5 separate regions of the Homo sapiens genome follow, and regions 1, 2, 4 and 5 are each linked to region 3. Evidence: promoter capture Hi-C in 16 types of primary human blood cells and fetal thymus (Javierre and others, 2016). All regions are on one chromosome and are shown on one strand. The core of a region is centred on a gene start or on the middle of the fragment in contact, and the rest is flanking DNA. Distances in the headings are between cores, read along the strand shown. Region 1 holds the start of TCP11L2 (t-complex 11 like 2). Region 2 overlaps PRKAB1-AS1 (PRKAB1, TMEM233 and CCDC60 antisense RNA 1). Region 3 holds the start of RBM19 (RNA binding motif protein 19). Region 4 overlaps PRDM4 (PR/SET domain 4). Region 5 overlaps LOC124903033 (a long non-coding RNA gene).

The links. The method cuts DNA at HindIII sites, captures the fragments that hold promoters and counts their contacts. A CHiCAGO score of 5 or more calls a contact.
Region 1: a contact is called between the fragment with the promoter of TCP11L2 here and the fragment with the promoter of RBM19 in region 3, in 1 of 17 cell types (total CD4 T cells). The highest score is 7.1, in total CD4 T cells.
Region 2: a contact is called between a fragment that was not itself captured here and the fragment with the promoter of RBM19 in region 3, in 3 of 17 cell types (monocytes, total CD4 T cells and total CD8 T cells). The highest score is 10.3, in monocytes.
Region 4: a fragment that was not itself captured here is called in contact with the fragment with the promoter of RBM19 in region 3 in 2 of 17 cell types (activated CD4 T cells and total CD4 T cells); the score reaches 5.9 in activated CD4 T cells.
Region 5: a fragment that was not itself captured here is called in contact with the fragment with the promoter of RBM19 in region 3 in 1 of 17 cell types (total B cells); the score reaches 5.9 in total B cells.

Annotation. Positions count from the first base shown.
Region 1 is chr12:106,299,576-106,304,807 of GRCh38, reverse strand. TCP11L2 (t-complex 11 like 2) reads right to left here and starts at 2,075. Exons shown (of 10, transcript NM_152772.3): 1 at 1,867-2,075. RefSeq lists enhancers at 2,008-2,147, 2,158-2,237, 1,412-2,297 and a silencer at 2,318-2,437. The HindIII fragment of the contact is 6,335 bases long and covers 1-3,048 here.
Region 2 is chr12:119,660,958-119,666,054 of GRCh38, reverse strand. The region is part of intron 1 of PRKAB1-AS1 (PRKAB1, TMEM233 and CCDC60 antisense RNA 1); the gene reads left to right. Among named protein-coding and RNA genes, the nearest start is that of PRKAB1-AS1, 4.6 kb to the left of the region's middle. RefSeq lists a cis regulatory region at 273-290 and an enhancer at 210-354. The HindIII fragment of the contact is 1,101 bases long and covers 2,334-3,434 here.
Region 3 is chr12:113,965,075-113,970,324 of GRCh38, reverse strand. RBM19 (RNA binding motif protein 19) reads left to right here and starts at 4,000. Exons shown (of 24, transcript NM_016196.4): 1 at 4,000-4,133. The coding sequence starts at 4,098. RefSeq lists enhancers at 3,694-3,763, 3,722-4,649, 4,650-5,250. The HindIII fragment of the contact is 5,534 bases long and covers 3,104-5,250 here.
Region 4 is chr12:107,754,651-107,759,641 of GRCh38, reverse strand. PRDM4 (PR/SET domain 4) reads left to right here. Exons shown (of 12, transcript NM_012406.4): 3 at 2,677-2,810. It overlaps PRDM4-AS1 (PRDM4 antisense RNA 1), which reads right to left. Exons shown (of 5, transcript NR_120474.1): 4 at 1,250-1,367. Among named protein-coding and RNA genes, the nearest start is that of PRDM4, 4.0 kb to the left of the region's middle. The HindIII fragment of the contact is 2,346 bases long and covers 2,343-4,688 here.
Region 5 is chr12:119,680,529-119,685,386 of GRCh38, reverse strand. It overlaps LOC124903033 (a long non-coding RNA gene), which reads left to right. Exons shown (of 2, transcript XR_007063485.1): 1 at 1-65. PRKAB1 (protein kinase AMP-activated non-catalytic subunit beta 1) reads right to left here. Exons shown (of 7, transcript NM_006253.5): 7 at 3,768-4,858. Among named protein-coding and RNA genes, the nearest start is that of PRKAB1, 15 kb to the right of the region's middle. RefSeq lists enhancers at 3,026-3,155, 3,326-3,385. The HindIII fragment of the contact is 854 bases long and covers 1,980-2,833 here.

The DNA of each region.
Region 1 (5,232 bases), core at 826-3,325, 7.7 Mb after region 3:
ATTAGCAAAAAGGTTAACTGCTTACAGTCATAAACATTTTGGAGTGAAATATTCAGATTACCCAGCAGGGCCTTGAGGAATTGAACCCATCCAGTTAAGGTTAGCTCACGCAAAAAAGAAATTTCAAGAAACTTCTAGTGTGTACCATCCTTCAACACTAGATCGAGGTCAGCTGCAAGGACAAGCCTTCACATATGTGTAGTAAAGGGAAGGGAGTCAGAGGACTAAGTCTGGGCTCTAAAGAAAAAAATTGCAGATGATGTGAAAAATTTCCATCTTCTGCAAAATGCTGCTTTAGAATCAGTCTTAAATAGCAGCACTAAAGTTATTCATCCACAGCAAAGCAAAAACCATAGAGCAGAGGGATAGGGGCCCATACCATTCATCTAGACAATACTGGTCTTCATCAAGTTAGAACCAACAAAGAGCTAGATAAAAGCCAACAAGCCAGTCACTGTCCACAAAGCAGATGTTCACGTTACACGTGGCATTACAGCATCAGGGAGAAGGATTCCTGGCACTTTTCACATTTGAAAGCACTCCTCCCACACTTGCTGGTCTGTTTTGTTTTAATACCTGTGCTTCCCCCTCTGGGGCCCTCAACCTCTCACAAAATGGCATTGAAGCTGCTTCCACACATGACTGGGTATCTTCGGCCCTGGGCCTCTTCAAATCAGGCAACTTCCACTGGCTGTCAGGGTGATGCATGAAATCCCTAGAGAAGAGAGGAAAAGGACCACGGCAGGGAGCCTCCTCAAGTGGGAACCACTGAGATTAACTCATTATCCGTTGGCAGGTAAGAAGAGCAAAGTCCCTGACTGGGCTGGTGACCATGGGTGCTGAGACACCCACTGGGGACAAGGACAACTTGTCCAGTTTCTTCACAGTTAAGGTAGCAGGACAACCATCTAAGATTTCCCAAACTTAAGTCGTTTGAGTGCCACTCTTCATGACTATTTCTACGTCTCCCTCCTTACCTTTACTATAATTTAGTAACCGCGTCTCTATCTTGACTAGATTTTTGCATTTAAATATATTTATTTTAAAAGGAAACTCTATCATTGTGAAACTGCTTACTTAATGGAACAGATTTTCTTAATAGTAACGAAAACAAGTAACTATGTTCATCCATATGCCACCTCAAATCATTGCTATTACCCCCAGTGGTGCCACCTACAGTAGCAGCTTTGGGAAGCACAAGCAACACCTGAGGGTTCAGCGTTCGAGCCCAGGCCCAATCGGCTTTTCTCCACCTCTTCCCCTTAACCAAAGGTCCCGGCAAGGGGACGCAGCAGCAGTCTGCACGACCTCACCCACGTCCTCTGGCCGCCCCTCCCCTCCAGCAGCACCAGGTTTCCTGTCAAAACAAACCCTTGGGGGAGGGGACGGCGGAGGCAGAGCTGAGTGCCGGGGAAACCACGGCAACAAATCCCAAACACACGCTGCCGGGCCCGCCCTGCCTCTACCCTGGCTCAGTTCCCTACTCCAGCCCGGCCGAGGAGTGTGGGGGAAGGGGGTGCCCTGGGCCCCTGATGGCGGGATGCCGCTGGTACCTGTCCAGCAGGATTTAAACAGCGGCGAAGCGGCCTCCGAGGCCCGAAGTCCGTGTCCACCCCGACACGCGGGGCGGCCACTCGGTGCCCCGCTCCCCGCTCCCACGCGGGACGGCAGTTCGAGGTCAAACAAGGGGACGCGGAGTGGGAAGACATGAACTAGGAGCCGAGCTTGATGGCCCCTGACCCCGCCTTCCCAGGATGGAGTTCCGAGATAGGGCAGGGGAGCCTTCGGGCTGCAGCGGTGTCCCCTCCGTTGGACCTGGCCGGTCACCTCCGAGCCGGCAACGCCTCCCCCGTGATGGATACGCACCGGGTCCAGCACGTAGACAAGAGGAGAACGGCGACGGAGTGACCCCGGGTCAGGGCTCTCTGGGCGTCCCCTCACCGAGCACAGCACAGTCACCTCGAAAACTCACCAGCCCAACAAACCCCCCCAGCCCCAGTGTCCCCCCCAACGCGGTATTTAAAGGGCCCTGAGGGACTCTAGGGAGGCAGCCACGGCGCGGCCATCACAAAACCGGATAGCGGGGGGACGACGGCGCGACGGGGCAAGGGGATCCAGGGCCCTTCAGTCTCCGAAAGCCGAGCGCTCACAGACTGAACCTATTAGAGAAACAGTCTTCGTCAGTTTGAACCAGAGAGGCCGAGAACAGCTCGGATGGGAGGGTGTTTCGGATGCGAGAGGGCACGGTTCCCCCGCGCGGCGAGTGGTGCGGTCCGGGCTGCCGGGGGCGGGGTGAGAAGTGTTTACGGAACTGAGGCCGCCGAGCCGACGGGAGCGCCCGGCGTTGGGGGCGGGGCCTGCCAGGGCACTGGGGGCGGGGCCGAGTGGGGGAGCGGGGGCTGAGCGGGGGCTGAGCGGGGGCTGAGCGGGGGCTGAGCGGGGGCTGAGCGGGGGCTGAGCGGGGGCTGAGCGGGGGCTGAGCGGGGGGAGCGGGGGCTGAGCGGGGCTCTGGGGAGGTGGGCGAAGCCGCGGGCCAAGCCTCCAGTGGAGTGCCGGACAGATCCCCTGGGCTTCCAGGCGCACTGGCGTGGACCACACTGCGAGCTCCCGGCCGCGCGTGGAACATTGAGTGCCCGCACACCCCTGTCTAGACGGGGCAATCGGAACTGGGTGCCCACCAACACACTGTCCACACTTACAGAGACAACCCAACCAACAACGCTGCTGGTGGGCTTTCCCACGCACGTCAGCCACTAACCGGGTCATCTCCAGTTGCGTCTACACCTCCACATAAACACGGGTCTAGATTTGCACCTGCACGGGACGATTAGCTCCTTGGAGTCACACCCATCCAGGCCCTCTGAAGACTTGGCGTGCGTGCAAAAGATAAAGCGTCTTACTTCCTCTAGGGTTCTTGGCAGCACCTATCTCCGGGAGAAGTTTCCACCTTGGTTAATGTAAATAACCAGTCCCAGGAGGGCTCTGTGCCGTCTGGCCTGCTGCTCAGCTCCTGCTGTGGGCGTGCTTGAGGGTGTAGAGAAACAAGCTTCCCCCAACTGTTCACATCAAAACTATGCCTTCTGCCAGGTGTAAATCGGTGCTGTATTACTTGGGAAATAGTTTCATGCAGGAACTACTTACATGAAGTTTGTATAGACTAAAGTATTTCTGTTTAGTGCCGAAATTATGTCTGGATTGTGGAGGCAGATTGGCCACCACCGTTCAAAAACAACAACAACAAACAACAGGCAACATTTTAAAGCAGGGTAGAAAGTCAGTTGTTCAGTGGTTACAACACAGACTCCTCTATGGTTCCAGTCCTGGCTCTGACATTCACTATCCATGAGATCTTGGTCTCTGGGGATAACAATGATAGCTATTTCCTTGGGTTATTTTGAGGATAAAGTGAAATAAAGCATGTGAAGTGCTTAGCAGGGTGCACAGTAAGCACTCTAAGTATTAGTTATTGAAATTCTTTGGCAAACCACTGTGGCCAAACTTAGCTGGTGATCTGTATAAATTTGTATCTGTGCCTCCTTTTGCCACTTTCCTCTCTTCTCCTAAAATATACAACCTAATAATACAGGTTAAGAGATTAAATAGAAGGTGCTGTCCCCACCTGAGTTCTTCCCTACAAACATGCTCTTATTTGTGTCATTCGTTGGATAAGTAATCAGAATGACAGAAGCCTCCAATTTCAATTCCTGCCAAATGACAACCACCACACAACTGCCATCACCACCCTAAAAACTCCACAATAGAAAGATGAACACCCAAATCCCCCAAACTTCTGGTAATTCTGTGACAATGACACATGGCAACATTACTTCCTTTGTTAGCTTTGTAAGGATTTAAGTATTGTTTTGAGCTATGACATAAGTTGGAGCAGGTGACCATGAGTCAGGGTAGTTGTCCTTTATACTGGAGTGACCAGCTGCCTGATCCTAGGCATGACACTTCTTTTAAAGTTCAGATATGTAGCTCTCAAAGCCACCAGGAAAGCAGCTTTTGTCAAAGCAAGTTCAACTGTAACATCAGAGAACCAAGCTGAGATAAGAAAAGATGCTGGAAATACTATCTTCTGTTACTTTAATGTTAAATAACTTGCTATCTGAAAACCCTTCTGTGAATTACCTGACCAACTGCCCTTGGCCTGACTTGTGTATAAAAGCACTTTGGGCCAGGCACGGTGGCTCATGCCTGTAATCCAAGCACTTTGGGAGGCCGAGGCAGGTGGATCACAAGGTCAGGAGATCGAGACCATCCTGGCTAACACGGTGAAACCCCGTCTCTACTAAAAATACAAAAAAATTAGCTGGGCGTGGTGGCACGCACCTGTAATCCCAGCTACTCTGGAAGCTGAGGCAGGAGAATCGCTTGAACCTGGGAGGTGGAGGTTGCAGTGAGCCGAGATCACGCCACTTTACTCCGGCCTGGGCGACAGAGCGAGACTCCATCTCAAAACAAAACAAAACAAAAACAACACTTTGAAAAAATGGAGTGCTGTAAAATATAAGGCAGTTCCCTCAAAAATGAGCCTTGTATCACATTGTTGCTCAGAGGGCTCAGACAGTCATAACACAAAATCTTCCCTGCTCAGGTTATGTTTATGGCTTTCTGAGGAAAAAAAAAAAACAACAAAATCTGAAAAGGCAACCTCTTTAGAAGTAAAATAATTAGCATTTTATTTGAAGAAGACATATTATTACACCTAGTTTTTCTAACTTACCTTTTTGAACCACTTAGAGAACTCACAGTAATACAGTTTTTTTTTCTCCCTGTAAATTACACGGTAGACTAAATGTGGTCTATCACTCTTGGCAAAAGACTAAGGGCAGATCAAAATTTTTGTTCGATGAAGAAATAGAAATACTCATTTTCTTTTTACACATCTGAAATCTGAGTTTTAAATTATAATAAATCATTGACAAAAATCTAAAAATGTAATTACAGTTGGATTTGCAACCTCTCAGCCTTATAACTTTTCTAGTGGAGTTGCATATTGTACTGATTTAATGTAATGCAAATTTAGCTATACGGGACTCATCTAGGACAGAATATGAGGAACACAAGAGAATAATTTAAATACTTCCAGTGATCTTGTCCCCTATTTCTCTCTATGGGAGTTGTGAGGCTTCTCTTACTGTGTTTATCTGAGTTTCTGAGCTTCTCATTATGTTCCAAGCTTCTTTCCCACGGCTGGCTTCATGTTCGTGCAGTCTGGGCAGTTGC
Region 2 (5,097 bases), core at 1,635-4,134, 5.7 Mb before region 3:
AAGGGATGGGAGCCAGGAAAAGGGATGGGAGCCAGGAGGGTCTTCCTGAAGCTGATGACTGAGAATTTGAATGTATTCAGTATAATCAGAAATGTTGAATGTGCTTGCTGAATTAAATAAGCTAAGATACTGTGGATGACCCAGGATATCTTCTTTGAGCTGCTTTTCTAATAGTGGCCCTGACTTGGTTACATGAGACAGTGGGGTGTTGAGTTTTGAAATCTCTCCCAAACAGCCGGAGAGATAAGAAAGAACACATGAGCTGTGGATTCTTTATCTGAGCTATGCAGATGCTTTGATGCATGAAGAAAGTTTTAAGACATCTGCACTAGCTTGAATAAGATAACAGTGAAAGCATGGGTGGCCCTTGATGTCAAATACAATCAACAATATCCTGAGGATGCCACCAACTGCTGATTGGAAACTCTTACCACATTGTATCAAGATTTCATGACAAAGAAACTAACATTGGTATCTATCAGCTATTGACCCCATATTGAAAATCATGGGTAGGGTAGACTCGCCAATTACAAGTGTCTACTTGGGTCCCAGCTGTGTCTCTCTTGGGTCATTTTGTGTTACTTATCTGTGTAACAATGGTTTGTGACTTTCCTAAGCATCAGAGCGTCTCATCTTTCTCTGATTCTCTGCTGATATGGATGTCAGACCATTCCATCTTGGGGGCTGGAGGTGTGCCAGGAAGTATAACTGTTAGCACATTGCTGTGTAAAAGGCATCATCTACTCACTGCTGTCTGTCTGGCACCAGGGCAAAGACAAATGATAAATACCCTAGATTCTCCCCCAAACAAACCAGGGCAATTTTAACACAGCCACAGCTAGGAGTACCCCTCCCCCACCCCCGCAACCCTGGCTTCAAATTCACTCCAGCTCCAAGCACAAAAAGAAGTAGGTTTTCAAGTCCTTAAAAGTCACCCAGAGTGAGATAAAATCTCATTTATCCTTAAATTTATGATTAAAAGGGTTAAGGATAATGTTTTGGGGCCTCCTCCATAGGATGGATTAGAATCAGTATAGCACTTCTGAACTGACCAACCCATTTGTTTTATATAAGGAAGAGTCTAAGTCCCAGAGATCGAACAGTTTTGCCTGAGGTCACTCAGATGATCATAGGTCATACTGAGACTGAATTCTGGATCACCTGGCCACTCCCCACTACATCATGGTCATGGCACCTCATCAAAAAGACCTTTGGTTCCCCAGCTGGCCTGTCTACAAACATTTGTACTGTTCTGAAGAACCCTCCCCATCTAAGAACAGCCAGGGCTCTGATCACAAATAACTCAATGGCAATATTGAGTGCCAATTATGAGCCAGGCACTGTTGTAACTCTTGGTTACAACAGTGAACAAAACCAAGTTCTTGCCCTCCAGAGGAAAGAGTCCACACACATATGCACATGTGGTGAGAACAGGCAGTGTTCTCACTAAACATCGGTAGCTGGAGGAAGAAATTTCACATTTGGACTATGCTGTAGACTAAATTGTATCCCCCCAAAATTCATACATTTGCACTCCCACTCCCAATTTTATAATGTTTGGAGGTGGGGCCTTCAAGGGGTAATTAGGGTTAGATGAGCTCATGAGAGTGGGGCCCCCATGATGAGATCAGGGTACTTATGGGAAGAAGAGACGCTGGAGAGCTTGCTCGCATGCTGTCTATTCACGCCCATGCTCAATGGAAAGGCCATGTGATGACAAAGCAAGAAGGCGGCCATCTGCAACTCAGGGAAAGAGCCCTCACCACACATCAACCATCCTGGCACCCTGATTGTATTAGGCCATTCTTGTATTGCTATAAAGAAATATTTGAGGTTGAGTAAGTTATAAAGAAAAGAGGTTTACTTGGCTTATGGTTCTGTAGGCTGTACAGCAAGCATGGCTCTGGGTATCTGCTTGCTTCTGGTGAGGCCTCAGGAAGCCAAGGGGGAGCCGATGTATTGATGTATCACATGGCAAGAGTGGGAGTAAGAAAAAAAGTGGGAGGAGGTGCCGCACGCTTTTAAACAACCAGATCTTGTGAGGGCAGCACCAAGACGATGGTGCTACACTATTCATGAGAAGTCCACCTCCATGATGCAGTCACCTCCCACCATGTTGGAGGCCTCACCTCCAACATGGGATTACATTTCAGTGTAAGATTTAGGGGGAAAAGTATCCAAATTATATCACTGATATTAGACTTCCAGCTTTCGGACCTGGGAGAAGTAAATCTCTGTTGTTTAAGCCACCCAGTTGATGATTTGTTATAGCAGTCTGAGCTGACTAAGACAGACTCAAATGTGTGTGGGCTGCTAGGATAGAATTACAAGCTTACTTTTAGGGCTTAACCAGATTTCCACCAGGCCTTCTGAATTTTGCCTAGCCAATGTAAGTAACACTGCCAATGTTTGAGAAACTTGTCCATCTTTTCTTGCTAGACATTCTTGTGTTCTCTTTGCACTGAGATGTGAATATTGTGACAGAGAGTCATCAACATAGAATTAAAAGAAGTTCATTCTACAGCATTTGGTCTACAACCTTAATTGGCAAATAGCCTCATTTTGTGACTTTTAGGTTGTCTGAGAAAATTCTGTTTCTTGACCTGGGTTGGTAATTATTAACATGTTTGCCTTGTAGTAACTTACTAAGCCATACATTTCTTTTGTGTAGTTTCCTGTATCTTTATTTTATTTTCAATAAAGTTTTTTTTAAATAAATAGCTTCACTCACAGGGTAAGCTGAAACCTAGAAGGGAGAAGTGCCCAGTTCAAGGTAACACAATGTTCTTAATAAAGTTCACCTCAAGTCTATCCTCTTTTTTTTTTTTTTTGAGATGGAGTTTCACTCTTTTCACTCAGGCTGGAGTGCAGTGGTGCAATGTCGGCTCACTGCAACCTCCGTCTCCCGGGTTCAAGCGATTCTTCTGCCTCAGCCTCCCAAGTAGCTGGGACCACAGGCGCACCCCACCACGCCTGGCTACTTTTTGTATTTTTAGTAGAGACGGGGTTTCACCATGTTGGCCAGGCTGGTCTCAAACTCCTGACCTCAGGTGATCCACCCTCCTCGGCCTCCCAAAGTGCTGGGATTACAGGTGTGAGCCACTGCACCTGGCATCTCTATCCTCTTTTAAGAGCTTTGAAGGAATGGAGGAGAAAAGGATGTACACTTTCTACCCCTTTTCTAGAGGACAAGTGACAAACTAAAGCAGTATCCAGGCAAAGATCCAACGGAGGTGAAAACAATGAGAGGAAGTCTGTCTCTGTCTCATCTCTTTAAAATGTAAGCTCCCAGGGATTTGAATATCAAAGTTTCATAATCACTTTAACATATGCTGTTGGGACCATCATACCCCATCTGCATGTGCCCTTCTGCGCATGCCCCAAACTTCCTAACTGTGAGCAGGTGCAACTCTGAGGGCCTTCTGGAGAAAGCTTTGTCGACACAAGTGGGAACCCAAGGGGACCAGAGAAGACACCCTGAGAGAAGCCCTCAGCCAACCACAGAGGAGCCAGTTCCCTTGCCCCTTGGATGTGCTAACTCTAATGAAGCAGCGTCATTTTTCTGGGGTAACACCCGAGGTTCGATGTCTCATGCTAAGGAAATTGAAGACATGGCCATGCAAGGAGTGGGTTTAAGAGTGGAAAGTTAAATAGATGAAAGAAGGAAGAGAGCTTCCTCATGCAGAAGAAGGGGTCCTGAGTGGGTTTCCCTGGTTTGGGGCAAGGTGTGGTTGGTTTTAGGGATGAGCGTGAGGAGATGGTATATGATTTACATGGGGTGTAGTGGATTGGTTGGACCAGATGTGCCATTTTCATAGCCCGTGAAGAGGCTGGTCATCCCACTCTAATCTTTTATTATGCAAATGGAATTTTAAAAAACCTGGCTGGTGCCATGTTATCTGCACACGTGGCAACAAAGAAAAGGGAAGAGGGAACCTCCATGTTGAATATACCTGGTTTCCAGCTATCTGTTTTCTATTGGCACAGCTGCTGGTATTTACCTATGCAAGCCTCTAGCTTGCTTATCTATGCTTGCAGCTTGATTTTTCAGGCTGCTTTTTGTTAAAAAAAGAAATGATTTGGAGACTGCGTTTTTATTAAAAGAAAAACCTTACTGAGGACTCTCTTACCCTCACTAACTGTCTAAATAATTTCTTTTTAGCTCTCGTATAACTAAGATATATTCCCTACCGTGTCTCAGAGGTCCCCAGTGGAAATGCACCCTAGATGTCCACAGCAGTAATTGGATCAAGGAATTCATTGATTATCTTCCTTTCCTTTTCTTTATCTCTTTTTAGGAGCACCTTCCAAATAAATACTCAGAAACACCTCCCAAGACACACTAATTGCATGAAAATCCTAGTTCAACCACATAGGTTACAGATGAGGAGGGACAATAGCTTGCTGAATTATAGAAAAAGTTAGTGGTCATAGATCATAATTTGGATCTTATGTCTTGGTTTCTGGTCCAGGGTACTGTGAGATTATCATTCTTCTTGATATGATGAACCATGGAGACTTTTAAAAAACAGGGATCGGCAGCATTATCATAATAGACAGAAGGTGGAAAGAATCCAAATGTCCACCAAGAGATGAGTTTGTAGGCTGGCACAGTGGCTCATACCTGTAATCCTAGCACTTTGGGAGGCCGAGGTGGGTAGATCAACTTGGGGCCAGGAGTTCGAGACCGGCCTGGCTAACATGGTGAAACTCCATCTGTACTAAAAATACAAAAAATTAGCTGGTTGTAGTGGCGCACACCTGTAATCCCAGTTTATTGGGAGGCTGAGGCATGAGACTTGCTTCAGCCTGGGAGGCGAAGGTTGCAGTGAGCTGAGATTGTGCCACTGCACCCCAGCCTGGGCGACAGAGAAAGACTCTGTAACAACAATAACAAAATGAATTATAAACAAATTGTGGTATGTTCATACAGTGGAATATTCTTCTATCACAAAAAGGAATAAAGTACTGTTACATGTTACAATGTGGATGACCTCAAAAATATTAACATTATGCTAAGTGAAATAAGCCAGACACAAAAGGTCATATATTATATGATTCCATTTATATGAAATATACAGAATAGATATATCCATG
Region 3 (5,250 bases), core at 2,751-5,250:
GACAGGGAGGAACAGATTCAACCTCACGGCTCTCAGAAGGAACCGGCGCTGCCAACACCTTCATCTCGAACTTCTAGCCTTCAGAACTGCAAGACAATACATTTGGAAATTTACGACTACCCTGGCCTACAAACATGACAAGTATCTATGTATCCTCACCCATCTCCCTCCTTTTTTTGTGTGTGTGTTTTGTTTTTACCTAAGTGAAAGCATACATAATACATTATTTAGTATATTGCTGGTTTTCACTTAACAATATATTTTGGAGATTGTCCCATGTCCCATGTGCTAGTTCTTCTCTAACAGCCCATCTCCCATTCCCTGAGCCTGCTCCTCCACTTTGCTCTGTGCCCCAGATGCAATCTGTGTGCACTGCAACATCTGTGATCATGCCTCCAGCTTCCCATTGGTTCGGCCAAGGGGAGGCTCCAGTAGGAAACTGCAGTTGGGAAGAGAAAGAGGGGACAGTGTATTTATCCCCGACACACACACACCTGTGGTTCCACAGTGGCTGTATCTCTCTATAGCTCTAGTCCTTAAAGTACGTCCCTCTTCCATGGCTCCTGGCATCACTGAAGCTCAGGAATGACATGTCCTACTCTGCCCTTCAGCCCCAGGGGTGGTGATAGCTCCCCACTGTTGCCAGGCCCTGGGGTTTGGCCATCCTTTGTTGGTTCCCTTAACCCTTCCTGTATTCATTTGCTGCAGGTGCTGTCTCAAATTACCACAAATTAGATGGCATAACAATGCAAAGTTATTCTCTCACATTTCTGGAGGCCAGAATCCCCCAAAGCACCAGCAGGGCCATGCTCCCTCCAAAACCTCCAAGGGAGAACGCTTCCTTGCTTCTTTCAGCTTCTGGTGGCTCCAGGTCTTCGTTGACTTGTGACTGCATCACTCCAGACTCTACCTCCACCTACACATGACGTTCTCTGTGTGTCCTTTAAAAGGACATGTGTCATTGGATTTAGGGTCTACCAGGATAATTCAGGATGATCTCATTTTGAGACCCTTAAGTACATTTGCAAAGACCCTTGATATGGTTTGGCTGTGTCCCCACCAAATCTCATCTTGAATTGTAGCTCCCATAATCCCCACGTGTCCTGGGAGGGACCCAGTGGGAGATAATTGAATTATGGGGGTGGTTTCCCCATACTGTTTTCGTGGTAGTGAATAAGTCTCACGAGATCTGATGGTTTTATAAGGGGAAAGCCTTTCACTTGGTTCTCATTCTCTCTTTGCCTGCCACCAGGTAAGACATCCCTTGCTCTTCCACCATGATTGTGAGGCCTCCCCAGCCATGTGGAACTGTGAGTCCATTAAATCTCTTTCCTTTATAAATTACCCAGTCTCAGGTATGTCTTCATTAGCAGCGTGAGAACAAACTAATACAACACTTTTTTGCAAATAAAGTCACATTTACAGCTTCCAGGGGTCAGGATGCCCCCAGTGTGTGTGGTGGTGAGGGGACAGGGGATCATTCATCCCACTACACTGCCCACCCTTCTGTAAATAGCTTTTTGTCCAGATTTGCTTTTGTTAAATCCTTTTGAGTATACCTCTGTGTCCTGCTGACTGATGCATTTCCTTCAAAAACATTTATAGCTACATACCTACCGTTTTTTAACAACTGCATAGAATTCTGTTGAATGGACAGACCTTAATTTACAATTAGCATTTAATGAACTCCTATTACCTGTCTCCTCCTGGTGCCCAGTGTGATGCTTTGCAAAGATGGATCTAAGGATGCCCCTATGGCAACATAATGTAGAAAGAACAAGTGGCCTCATCTATAACTCTGAACCTACACTGTGCGCTCCTCACCAGCGAGTTCTGTAGGTTTATGCTGTGGCAGATGCATGAGCTCCCTGCATTTGGGGCTCAGTAGGAAAGAGGCATATTCGAGGATGCCATGTTTGAGCTGGTCTTAGAGAGGGGATGGGAATGGGTTCAGAAAGATATTCCAGTGGCCAAAAGCACATGAAAGATGCTGTTTCATTAGTTATCGGGGAAATGCAAATCAAAACATTGAGTCACCACTGTACACCCACTAGAGTGGCTATGATTATAAAGACCCAATAACAAACACTGGAGGAGATGTGGAGATATTTGAACCTTCATATACCGCTGGTAGGAATATAAAATGGGGAAGCCACTTTGGATAACAGGTTAGCAGGTTCTAAAAAGGTTAAGCATAGAGTTACCATATGATCAGGCAATCCTACTCCTAGGAATATATCCAAGAGAAATAAGAACATATGCCCACACAGGAACTTACAGGTAAATGTTCACGGCAAGATTATTCACAGTAGCCACAAAGCGGAAACAACCCAAATGTCCATCATCAACTGATGAATAAATAAAATGTAATACATCCATATATGTAATACTATTCAGCAAAAAAAGTGTGGTGGCTCACGTCTGTAATCCCAGCACTTTGAAAGTTCAAGGCAGGTGGATTGCTTGAGCCCAGGAGTTCAAGACCAGCCTGGGCAACATGTTGAAACCTCGCCTCTACCAAAAAATTACCAAAAAAAAAAAATTAGCCAGGCATGGTGGCATGTGCCTGTAGTCCCAGCTGCTCAGGAGGCTGAGGTGGGAGGATGGCTTGAGCCTGGGAGGCGGAGGTTGCAGTGAGCTGAGATTGTGCCACTGCACTCCAGTCGGGGTGACAGAGCCCGACCCTGTCTCAAATAAATAAACAGATAAATAAAGTGCTGATTCATGCTGCAACATGGAAGAACTTTGAAAACATTATGCTAAGTGAAAGAAGTCAATTACAAAAGACTACATATTGTATTATTCCATTTACATGAAATGTCCATAACAGACAAATCCATAGAGACGGAAAGTAGATTAGTGGTTATCAGAGGGAAGGGAGAGGGAGGAATTGGAAGGTTATAGCTAAAGGGTGTGGTGTTTCTTTGGGGGTAATGAAAATGTCCTAGCATTGATTGTGGTGATGGCTGCACACCTCTGTAAATATAGTCAGCACCATTGAATTGTGCACTTTAAGTGGGTGAATTGCATGGTTTGTGATAAAGCTGTTAACAATAAGAAGGGGGGACGGAATGTCTTTTAGGTGAAGGAAATTGCAGAAGCTTGGCAGCAACGTCCAGTGCAGCTGAGGCACTGTGGGGAAACAGAAAGGAAATACCGTCATTTAAGAGTGAAAATAGGGGTTTTCATAGGATGTCTCCATCCAAGAGTAGGTACCGAGAATGCTCAGAGAAGCAATAGGAAAATAACATCCCTTTCACGTTCTCACCTCCTTAACCCCTAGCATAATAAAGAATTATTCCCATTTTATAGAAGTAGACACAAAGGCTCAGAGGCCATTTTGGCCAAGATCTCTCAGCTAGAAGATTGGCCAGCTGAGAGTTCCAAACATTAGGAAGGGAGGCAAAATGCTTGTGGGGCTGGGGTTGAAGGCGTAGAGACTCATTGTAGGGCCCTAGGCAGTCCCTAGCTCGAATCTGACTTTCCAATTCATAGTTATAAGACTTTGAGCAAGCTGCTTTACACGCACGATTCCCAGTTTATCTGCCTGCAAAATGAGAGCGTTTATTTCCAACATGTTCATTCCAAGTATTTACACAAAAGGCTCAATACTTGATTTGTGTTGGCTGGCAATCTCTCTAAACTTCACTTTCCCCATTTCTACGAGGAAGGCAAGGGTCCCTAATCTTGCCCCCGTTCTCAGGGGAGTCCTAAGGCTCAATAATAAAAATAAAATAAGAAAAAGGAGAGAACGCGATTGCCCGGTTGGCGCGACCCTTAACACCGAGCTAAACCGGCGCATGTTAGGGACCGGCGCCCCCTGCCGCCTTCTCCGCTGCATTGGCGTCTCACAGAATCCGCCCAAGGCCCTGCGCCTGCGCAAAATGCAAGCGCCCAGGCCCACCCCTTGTGGGGTGTGACCTCCCTGAGTAGTTTTGGATTAGCCACGCCTACTTCCGGACAGGTCAGGCCAAGGTCTCAGCCACGTGACTGTGTTCCGGCTCGGTAAAGATGGCGGCGCCCAGGGCGGTAGCGTGAAACTTGGTGGAAGACGCTGACCAGTCGTGTTGGAATCAAAACAGCGGGGACCCTGCGCCATGTCGCGACTGATCGTGAAGAATCTCCCGAATGGGGTGAGTGCAGAGGCAGGACTTGGGAATCTGAAATGAGACCAGCCGGGAGCTGTGAGGTAGGGAAGAGATGCCTGGAGGTGATCGAAGAATTTTTGCTCTGGGGCAGGACTCCGGGCCAATTCTGAACTCAAAGGGGGCGGGATCCTGGGCTTATCCCCATTTGATCCCGAGGAAAGAGGAATAGTGACTGCTTACGGTTTCACGGCCGGTTGTTTGGTACCTGACTCCTAACACACCTCTTCTCGGGGAGATGACAACTCCCACCTTGTGGCGAATACCCTGCTCCCACAACCTCTTTCATTCGATCACTGTTTTTTAGTTGTTGACCCGGGACATGGTCCGACACTGTATTTATATTCCTCTCCCAGTCTGGAAACTGTTGGGGAAGACATGGGGAATATTAATCTGCGGACCTGCGTTCCAATTCCCACTCCCATCCTTAGGGCAAGTAGGAATACGGAGTGGGTAAAGGGCTTTACAGCATTTATCCAGTAAGTGGGGAGTGGTGACCCAGCCATACTTTTTTGTTTCCCTGGAGCCCAGCGCAGAACCCGACACGTGGTAGGCAAAATAGGTGAATGTACGTAATATTAGATGATTAGATGCGGTGGGCTCGAATGGATCATCCTTTTTTCTCTCTCTCGCTGTTTTTTGTTCTGTTTTGTTTTTTTGTTTTTAAATGGATTACTGCTCCTTCCATCAGGTTAGACAGTGTCTCTTGATGCCTCGCTTTGTGGGATGAGGATTTTTAGCGTAGCTGCACTTCCTTTCCCTCCCAAATTCAGCTTTGTTGTGTTTCAAGTGTAGTTGATTCTCTTATCATTGTTTGTCTTATCTCTTTTTTTTCTCTCTCTTTCATGGCTTTTTTTGGTTTTGTTTTTTGTTTTTTTCTTTTTTTGTTTTTTTTTTTTAAACGGAGTCTGGCTCTGTCTCCCAGGCTGGACTGCGGTGGAGCAATCTCGGCAGTCTCGGCTCACTGCAACTTTTGCCTCCCGGGTTCTAGCGATGCTCCTGCCTCAGCCTCCCAAGTAGCTGGGACTACAGACACGCGCCACCAAGCCCGACTAATTTTTTTATTTTTAGTAGAGACATGGGGTTTCGCCATGTTGGACAAGTT
Region 4 (4,991 bases), core at 2,266-4,765, 6.2 Mb after region 3:
GAGGTCATCACGTTTTAGTGACTCACAACAAAGCAGAAATCTGCTGAGCCTCTCGCATTAAACTCTGGTTTGAACTGGTTTGAGAAGGCCTAGGAGTCAACCTAGAAACACCATGCTGATTTTTATCTTGAAATTAAATAAATATTCAGGAATTTTCAGAATGAGAGTTGAAGGTGCAGACTTGTAGTTGTACTTTTAAAAAAATATTGTAACCAATTTGTTAAGTAGGCTGTTACAGCTGTAGTGATTGTAGTGTTTTAATTATGGTTGTAGCTATAAAGAGTTAGGGAAAAGTCTGTTTTAAACCAACTCAAGCCCAGCAACTTTCAAAATTAAGGTAGATATGTTTTCTTTAGGCTACAGGGATTTTTTGCTTTTTTTGTTTTTAAGACACAGTCTCACTCTGTCACCCCAGCTGGCGTGTAGAGGTACAGGCAGAGCTCACTGTAGCCCCGACCTCCCCACTTCAGCCTCCCCTGTAGTTGGAACCACAAGCACGAACCACCATGCCTGGCTAAGTTAAAAAAAATGTTTAGTAGAGACAGGGGTCTCACTGTGTTGCCTAGGGACGTCTCCAAGTCCTGGGCTCAAGCGATCCTTCTGCCTTGGCCTCCCAAAGTGTGGGATTACAGGTGTAAATCACCACACCTGGGCTGCTTTATTTTATAGCATAATAAAAACTGTTATTAGCATGCTGTTCTTCATAAGGTGTACCTCATTTGCCAGGTGCTTCTAGCTGTCTTTCTGGTAAGGGTGATGAGTTTGCATAGCTCCATCCGATAAAATAAGAAAATTCAGAATGTCTGTTCTATACAAGGTACTAGGTTGGCCTTTTACATTTTATTGATGTCTTAGAGCTTAGTTTTATGGGATCCATGGCCAGGGATAAGGGTGAAACCTAATAATGCAAGAAACAGGTCTATGTGGAACTTTAAATATACGCCACAATATAAGTAGATAGGCCCTAATGTATTGCAACTGTGTAAAAGGCAATATAGTTCTTTTATTGTAATTGTCTTTTTCTTACTATAGTTAAGAGCTTTGGTTTCTTAAATTAGTTCTGAATTTAAATCCCAGCTCTCCTTACTGGTTATGTGATTCTGGGTTAAGTTTCCTAGCATCATTGAATCTTAAGTTTCCTCATCTTTAAAGTGGGATTAAGAATAATACCTACCTCCAGCCTGGGCAACATAGGGAGACCCCATCTCTGCAAAATAAAAACAAATTAGCCAGGCATGGTGGCACTTGCCTGTGGTCCCAGCTGCTTGGGGGCTGAGGTGGGAAGATCTCATGAGCCTAGGAGGTAGAGGCAGCAGTCAGCTGTGATCACGCCACTGCACTCCAGCTTGCAGCTACTGAGCAAGACCCTGTCTCAAAAACAAAAAAAAAAAAAAAAAAAAAAAGAAGATTAAGAGAGATAGTTACATATAAATCACTTAGCCCAATACATAGCACATGGTAAGGGAGCCATAAATTTTAGCTATTATTATTTTCAGGTTGATTGATAAAATGGCATTGCCATTTTTCAGAATTAAAAACCTATTTAGATTTGATTTCACTGCTAAGGAATATGTAACCTCATTTGATTCCTCTTCTCTGCTTCACCCCCTCCCATACGCAGAGAATAAAGCCCAGTGTAAGGACTGGAGGTCATTAGAGAGCCCCTTTTGGGTAACCTGTTGGCTAGCCTAGTGGTTCTGTAATGTTTATAGTATGGCAGTCTCTAAATTATGATATAAGAACTAATACTTTTTGATAACAACCTTCAGTGCTGTTTTATTCAAATCAGTATTACTCTTATTCGAAAGACATTTGTAATGGCAGTGCAAGATGGTTTGCATAGAAAAGGTGATTCCTAGGTTCTTCACCTTGCCAAAAATAGTCTGTAGTTAAAAAAAAAGTTTGGTGCAGTTAAAAAAAAGTTTGGTGCAATGAAAAACTTTTTGGCAGTGTTTTGCAGTTTGATCTGTGATCTTTCACTTAATAGCTATGTGATTTGGGGCATATGACATGGCCTCTCTGAGCCATAGTTCCCTCATCTATCTTACGTTGCAGTATTGGTGTGAGGATTTGAAGTCATTTTAAGTGAAGTGGTAGCAAAGCTTACATAATGACCCTCAATATTTGGAGGACATTAATATACTGATACAGAATCTTAGTAAACTGTTGCTGAATGGGGAAAATACGATGCTTTTCACATCATCGATAATCTGGATCTTTAACTCCTATTAAAAATGATTAGTAAAATTTACTTGAGTAGGTTAAAATGCGCTGCCTAAAACACTACTGGTTTGAAATAATAAGCCATTTGGAGAAAAATAAATATTATAAAAGATGAAGCTTGAGTGATTTAAAAAAAAACTGTCATTGCCATTGTGCTCTAAGAATTGCAGACTTTGCTTTAGATGGTGTGCCTAGAGTTTCGAACAAGGCAGAATTCAAATCCTATTTCTGCTATGTGACATTGAATTGAGTTTTTAATGTCTCAATCTCAGTTTTCTTATCAGTAGAAAGAATATGGCACTAGCTATCTAAGAGAATTGTTGAGCGTAAAAGTGAACTAATAGTTGGCCAAGTCCCATTTCCCCATCCCCACTGTTTCAGTTTCTTCAGTATCTTAATACAGAGTCATTGGAGTAAATTTTTGCATAACTAGTTGTGTGTGCTCTTTTCTAGGATGAATGAAATGAACCTGAGTCCAGTGGGGATGGAGCAGCTGACTTCATCCTCTGTGAGCAATGCCTTGCCAGTCTCAGGAAGTCACCTGGGATTGGCTGCCTCACCCACTCACAGTGCCATCCCTGCCCCAGGTGAGTGGTAAGGGAGACCTACTGCATTTCAACACTTAACTCTGTTATCAATTCTAAATGGAGTCTAGAAGAGATCAGAGCCCCTTTAAGGGTAGAAGGTAGAAGGGAGAAGGTAAGCAGGCCTGAATGGTGGTTCAACATGTGATAGGTAATGGAAAATAAGGTTTTTGTAGAGGTAGAGTATTAGAATTCTAGTGGATAGTAGCAGCAATTTTTTCTGATAGTCCTCTTCTGAGTTGGTAGCTTTTTGTCCAGAGCTGTAATTAACTTGGCATTTTATTTAGGGCTGCCCATTCATCTGGTTCACACTTCAGTACCCGTTCCCTGGGTTAATAGAAGAGAATCAGTTAAAATTACTCTAATAACTATTCCCAGAGAGCATGGGGAATTGGGCTTTATATTCCACCAGGTTTGAAATTAAATGGCAATAACTGCAAGTGTACCAGGTCTAGAATTAATGTGGAAAGAAGTGTGGTACTTTTACCTGGGGCTTTTACATGGAACGCCTCATGAGCCTCCATACACAGCAAAATCGTATAGGAAAAATTCATTCTTCCTATCCTTTTTTTTTTGAAATGGAGTCTCACTCTGTCATCCAGGCTGGAGTGCAGGGGCACGATCTCGGCTCACTGCAACCTCCGCCTCCCGGGTTCAAGTGATTCTCCTGCTTCAGCCTCCTGAGTAGCTAGGATTATAGGCATGCACCCCTACACCTGGCTCATTTTCTTTTTTTTCTTTTTTGAGATGGAGTTTCGCTCTTGTCGACCAAGGTGGAGTGCAATGGCACGATCTCGGCTCACTGCAACCTCCGCCCGCCTCCCGGGTTCAAGCAATTCTCCTGCCTCAGCATCCCGAGTAGCTGAGACTACAGGCACACGCCACCATGCTCAACTAATTTTTTGTATTTTTAGTAGAAACGGGGTTTCACCATATTAGCCAGGCTGGTCTCGAACTCCTGCCCTCAGGTGATCCGCCCTCCTCGGCCTCCCAGAGTGCTGGGATTTTAGGTGTGAGCCACCGCGCCAGCCGTCACTGTACTTTTAAAACCTTTTTTCTGCCTAGCTTCATTTTCTTATTCTATTGAAATAGAATATAAATGGAATAAATATTCTATTGATTATTACAATGATAAGCTGTCAGTTCTTTAGGATCAATGACATTGTTATGTATTGGACTTTCTTTGTCACAGTAGGAGTTAGTATAAATAAATCTATATATTGTTTAAATAGTTCTCTAAAGAGAATTACTTGCTTAATTAATAAAATGCAGCAGTTAAATAAGATTCATTGAAACTAGGGTCTCTTCACATTTGTTTAAGTGTCCACAAAAGAAATCTTAAAAAATTATTAGTGGTTAACCCACTTGATTGTTTGTAGGCATTCCCTTTAGTGGACACTCTTGTTAAGGTGGAAAAGCCTGTTAAAAAATATTGCCAGCCAGGCACAGTGGCTCACGCCTATAATCCCAGCATTTTGAGAGGCCAAGGCAGGAGGATCACTTGAGCCCAGGAGTTCAAGATCAGCCTAGGTAACATAAGGAGACCCCATCTCTACAAAGAAAAAAAAAAAAATTAGCAGCGCATGGTGGCACACACCCGTAGTCCCAGCTACGTAGGAGCTACATAGGAGGCTGAGAAGGGATGGCCACTTGAGCCAGGAAAGCTCAGGTTGCCTGAGCCATGGTCATGCTACTACGCTCCAACCTGGGCAACATAGCAAAACCTTGTCTCAAAAAAAAAAAATATTGCCCCTGGCAAAAATATGCAAATCAGCACTGACCAAGTTGGTGGGTATTTATTATGATACTTAGCCCAGTAAAAGTCACTTCACTTTGCAAGTACATATAACTCAAAGTAGATATAATCTCACGTTTAAAGCTTTTATTAATCACTAAGTGTAGCATATATACAAAAGATTGTATGAAGGTGTACATGTACAGTTTTACATCTAACTAAACTACGTTGTTTTCCAGGTAGAAATGAAATATTCTCACCATATAAAATGGTAAATACAATAAAGTTTAAAAATACCAAAAAAATTTCATACTATCACTACCTAGGGACTACTCCTATGAACATTTTATGTTTCCATTGTTTTTTTCTCTATATAATTTGTTTTCTTGTATTTAAACTCGGTTTTTAATTCTAAATTAAATATTTTGGCTGGGCATGGTGGCAATCCC
Region 5 (4,858 bases), core at 1,157-3,656, 5.7 Mb before region 3:
CTATTAAAAGGCCAACTACAATTTAATAATGTAGATTTCTTTGTAGAGAAGAATTCAAATCAAAGGTAATTAAAAATGAAAATACTTCCATTTTTAAGTAGAGGAACTTTTACAGTCTGCAAGATAAATTTTTTCTCATTCTTTAGTTTGTTAGTATAAACTTGCTCGATCCAGACAAACGGGTTTTGGCAAATGGTGATGTTTTTGTTTTCATGGTTCCTGTGGGTTGTAGTCTTTGAATTTTTATTTTCTAATGAAGTCGTCTGACCACGGTCAAAATTGGACTCGCAGAGTCGTATCTGTCTTTGTTGCTTGTGATGGGAACCACAGATGCAATTCTGTTCTTTTCGATGTTACTGTTGGGCATGAAAATCTGCCACAAGGTCGTAGTTGTAAGAATGAAAATAATTCAGAAGATGAAGTGGTGAAATGTGAACCTTTCTTTCCTTGTAGCATTAGAAAAACATCTGTTAAATATCAACCAAGCATTTCAGTGATTGTCTAGAGGATTGTGGGAGGTCACAGAAAACTTCCAAAGCTAAGTCAACATAGTTTGGTTTCAAAAGGAAGTGCCAAGGAAGAGTGTTTGAACCCTAAGGAATAGCCCGAAAGAAACAACCAACCAATTCCACAGCCACACCGTAAAATGAGGCCTAACTCTTCATGCTGGCCACTCCTGTTTCATAAGCACAAAATTAGATGTCATGTTTTCTGCGCTTACAACTTAATTGTCACCGGACTAAAGAGGTTGATTGCATAGCAAATTCCATAACCATGGAACTTTAGGATTTGGAGGGTTAGGCCAAAAGAGAATTTGCTTAATAGGACTGTCTTCAGAATTGGACCTCTTGAATGTGATTTGCTATAGAAAGCATTCGTGGGGGCCAGCTCAGATTCCATTCTCAGAATACAGTGGTTACACTGGCTTGTTCCACTGGTTCTAAGCCATGGGGAGATTTTGCTTCCCTCCTCCCAGAGGACATTTGACAATGTCTGGAGACATTTTTGGTTGTCACAACTCGGGAGTACTACTGGTATCCAATGGGTGGAGGTCAGAGATGCTGCTCAACATCCTACAAGGCAAAGGACAGCCCCCCACTGTAAAGCATTATCTGGCCCAAAGCCTCAATAGTGCCAAGGTTGAGAAACCGTGGTCTGTTCTAGTTTTAGTCCCATGTCTTCCTTGGCAATTTAAATACTGCTAATGATGTCTAAAGCATGTAGACCGTGGCTCTAGGCCTACAGTGTTAAATGAGAAAAATAGTTTCTTATTTGCCCACTCAAATGCTGAAGCTGTTTCCTGAAGCTGGGGAGGGTGGGGGTAGTGGAAATAGAGTCCAGTGTTGATCACTTTGTTTTCCCTTGAGTCTGTTAATGATGAACGGAACTCTATTTGCCCTAGAGAGATTGTTAGAGGTAGATGAAAGAACCTTGAAAATGACTTTATTACTCTGCATAAGTCAGGCTGTCTTTCAGAGAGCCACAAAAAAGGAAACAAAAAATCGACCAAGGGTATACACATCTTGGCCTGTTCTCACTGGCCACTGAGTATTTCAGATGGGATGGGTGAATTCTTTTAGGGGGAGGTAGCAGTAAGAGCTGGCATCCTCATCTGGGGAAAGGCTCTTTAGTTGTATGAAAGACAAGACGACAATGTAGTTGTGGGAGCCCACCCTGAGGGCAGAGCCTGGTGGCTCGTTCTAGAGCCAGTGGCTGGGGTCCCAGAGACGGGGCTCCGGCTGCTGCTCCAGCTTTTGGGATCTTCTCCAAATGTCTGACTCACTATAGTGACGATGACTCTTAGGAGGATCCTGTGGATGTTTTTACAATTAATAGGGATGACTGGGGTTTTAGAAGAAATGTATACGTATCTACAACTTCCATGTTTTCTCCTGAAGACAATTATAGTTGGCATACCAGGGCAGAAGGCTCTAGTTTGTTTCTCCACTAATTTGCTGGCCAAGATGAGTGCTGAAGCTTTTATTCCTCAGAAACTTTATGATTTGATGAGTGGTCCATGTCTTGGGTCTTCATCAATTCATTCAAACCATTTGTAAACATTGGTGGATGTCTTAGCCCATTTAGTGCTGCTTTAACAAAATACCTGAGAATGGGTAATTTATAAAGAACAAAAATTCATTCTCTCACAGTTCTGGAGGCTGGGAAGTCCAAGATTAAGGCATGGGCAGGTTTGCTTGTCTAGTGAGGGCTACTCTCTGCTTCCCAGATGGCGCCTTGTGCTTGGGTCCTCTGCAGGGGAGAAAAGCTGTGTGTCCTCACATGGCAGAAGGTGCCAGGGCACATGAGCTGAATGCTGCCTGAAGCCTCTTTGATAAGAACCTCAATTTCATTCATGAGAGGAGGGGCTCTCATGACCTAATCTCTTCTTAAAGGCCCTACCTCTTAATACTATCACATTGGGGACATTTGAATTTTGAAGGTGACACAATAGCAGAGGAGGATCAGATATGGGAAGTAAATGCTTGAAAGTGAAACTGTGCTCATACAAAAGGAACTGAATTAAAATGAAATTTTGTTCTTTCCTAGACTGGCTCGTTCAGTCTCTGACCTCAGCCACAGATCGTATCATGATGTTCCAGGTTTTTTCTCTCAGTCTTTTAGGAGCCTTGGAGATTTCCTAATTGAGCTAGCTGAGGTGCAGGCACAATTTTCTTGTCTGGCCTTTTGACTTCCTGTTTGTGGCCTTAGCCCTGCAATACTGATTTACATTTTAGTAATTTTTTAGGCTTTAATTTGGCTCTATAAATTCATCTGTATATCAGCTTCTAGAGGGAAAAATGTATCTTCATTGAAAAGCAATTTGAGTTAAGCTTTAACTAAGTCCTCACCCATAAAGGAAATGCTAATGAAGAAAGGATTACTTGGTCATAGGACACGATTTGACATATGGCTTTGCCCCTGTGATTTGGGCAAAACAAGGTCTCCTTTTCCACCTTTGTAAAATCACCATTAACCTTTAGCTTCTTGGGTATGGAGGCTTTCACTTGGTGGGCAGGCTTTCCGACTATAATGTGCTTTTTAAAGAAAATGAAATCCTTTGAATACGCACAGAGATGTGTTGTCTCTGACCATGTCCTCTTGTTTTGTGTCTCCTCCATCATCTCAGCAGTGACCTCACCTGGAAGTCCCCTGTGGCCCCAGGGCTTGGAGAACTCATGGGGTGACTGGCTCCAGTAAACCAGTCTTATTTTACATAGCATTTTCAGCTTGGGTTTTCTGCACCAGTGGGTAGAGCTCATTAGCATGCTTTTCTGCTAAATTTAAAATGTTTCCTGATACCTGAGAAGGCTTAAAGGAACACCCATAACCTTCCACCTTTTTGGAGGAGGGACACGGCCTCTTTTAGTGGATGAAAACAGCTCTGACTCCACAACGTCCTGCTCTCTCACACGCCAGGGTCACGATCCCAGGCTGTCCCACCGGGCTTGTTTAGGAGCAAAAGGAAACAAACCCTCTGGCCTGGGGACACCAACAACTGGCCGAAGCCAGGAGCCTCTGCTGTTACCCCTCTTCAGCTTCCCCTTGTGACTTGAGCTGTTCAGAGGGGCTCAGTTTTAGGGGTCCCTTAAGGTTCCAAACTGTGTGAATGGGTGTGAGTCACAGGACTGGTTCTCAGGCCTGGGCAGCTGGAGTAGCCCTGTCCGCTCAGAGCCACAAGAACGGTACTGAAACGCAACTCTCGAAGAGTTCCAGTCTCTTCTCCAAGGGACTGAATAAAATCAGAGCTCCTCCAGGCACATGTCCAATTATTTTTACAAAGTTTTATTGAAACTTGTCCATCAAGGTGACAGTAATTCACTGTTTTGAAAAGTCACAAAAAAGGGTACCCCCAAACTCAGGTATACCAAGTAAATACTGGAACCCAGGGAGCTCACTCCTCCCTCTCCCACCAGGAGCAAAGGGCATAACGGGAGCTTCCGCTGACTCACAGCAACCTGGGCTAGTGGGTACATCTGTGGCGACTCCCGGGAAACTGAGCTGCGTATAAAGAAGTCTGCTTTGGTCCAAAGGACATCTTCCTGACCCAGACTCAGAAGGCTGCTGTCAAGTTCTACATTCCTTTCAGAATAAGCAACAGCAACTGCTGCAGTCTTGCTAACTAGGGGCAGAGGTCCTGAGCAAGGTGCCACGGGACCTTGTAAAATCACGCTGTGTGATTTTATAGGGAAGAGGGCAGAGTGCCTCTCAAGTTTTCACGGTTAACACTGTCACCTATTATGACTGGAATAAAAAGCTGGACAACCTGCCAGCTAACTGGTCAGTCCTGAGGATCATCCAGCTGAATGGAGAAATCCGGCAGCAGGTTGAAAAGTCTGTTCTGAGAACAGATTATTGCTGAGCAGAGTTCATGTGACTTCTAGACGTGGTGACTTAAAAAATGGCCTTAAGGCTGCAGAGCCAGCCACCTCTGCTTACAAAAAGAGTACTTAGTGCACATGACTGTAAGAAACAATTGTAAAACCTCATCTAGAAATCAGAAAGCTTCTAATTTCTATAGAAATGACACCTCCCTGGAGCCGAGAGACAATCTGTTGTTGATTTTGAAGGACAGGCAAGACCAACACTGTATTTAGTTCCATAGCCAGGCCTCAACAGGGACAAGTGGCTGGCCTTAAAAACACACAGATGACTGGAAATGATGTGTGGCCTCAGTCCCTGTTTCCCAGAATTTTACTGGCAAAGGAGTTAGCATTCATTTTTGGCTTAAGAAAAATCGAGAATGTAGGTTTAGAACTGCACCCAGCCTCATGCACCGCGGGGCCAGGGCTGCAGATCCTCTGCCACCCCTCCCTCTTTTCTTGGACTTGATGAGTCCCCGAGGCTCAAAGCCATGGGG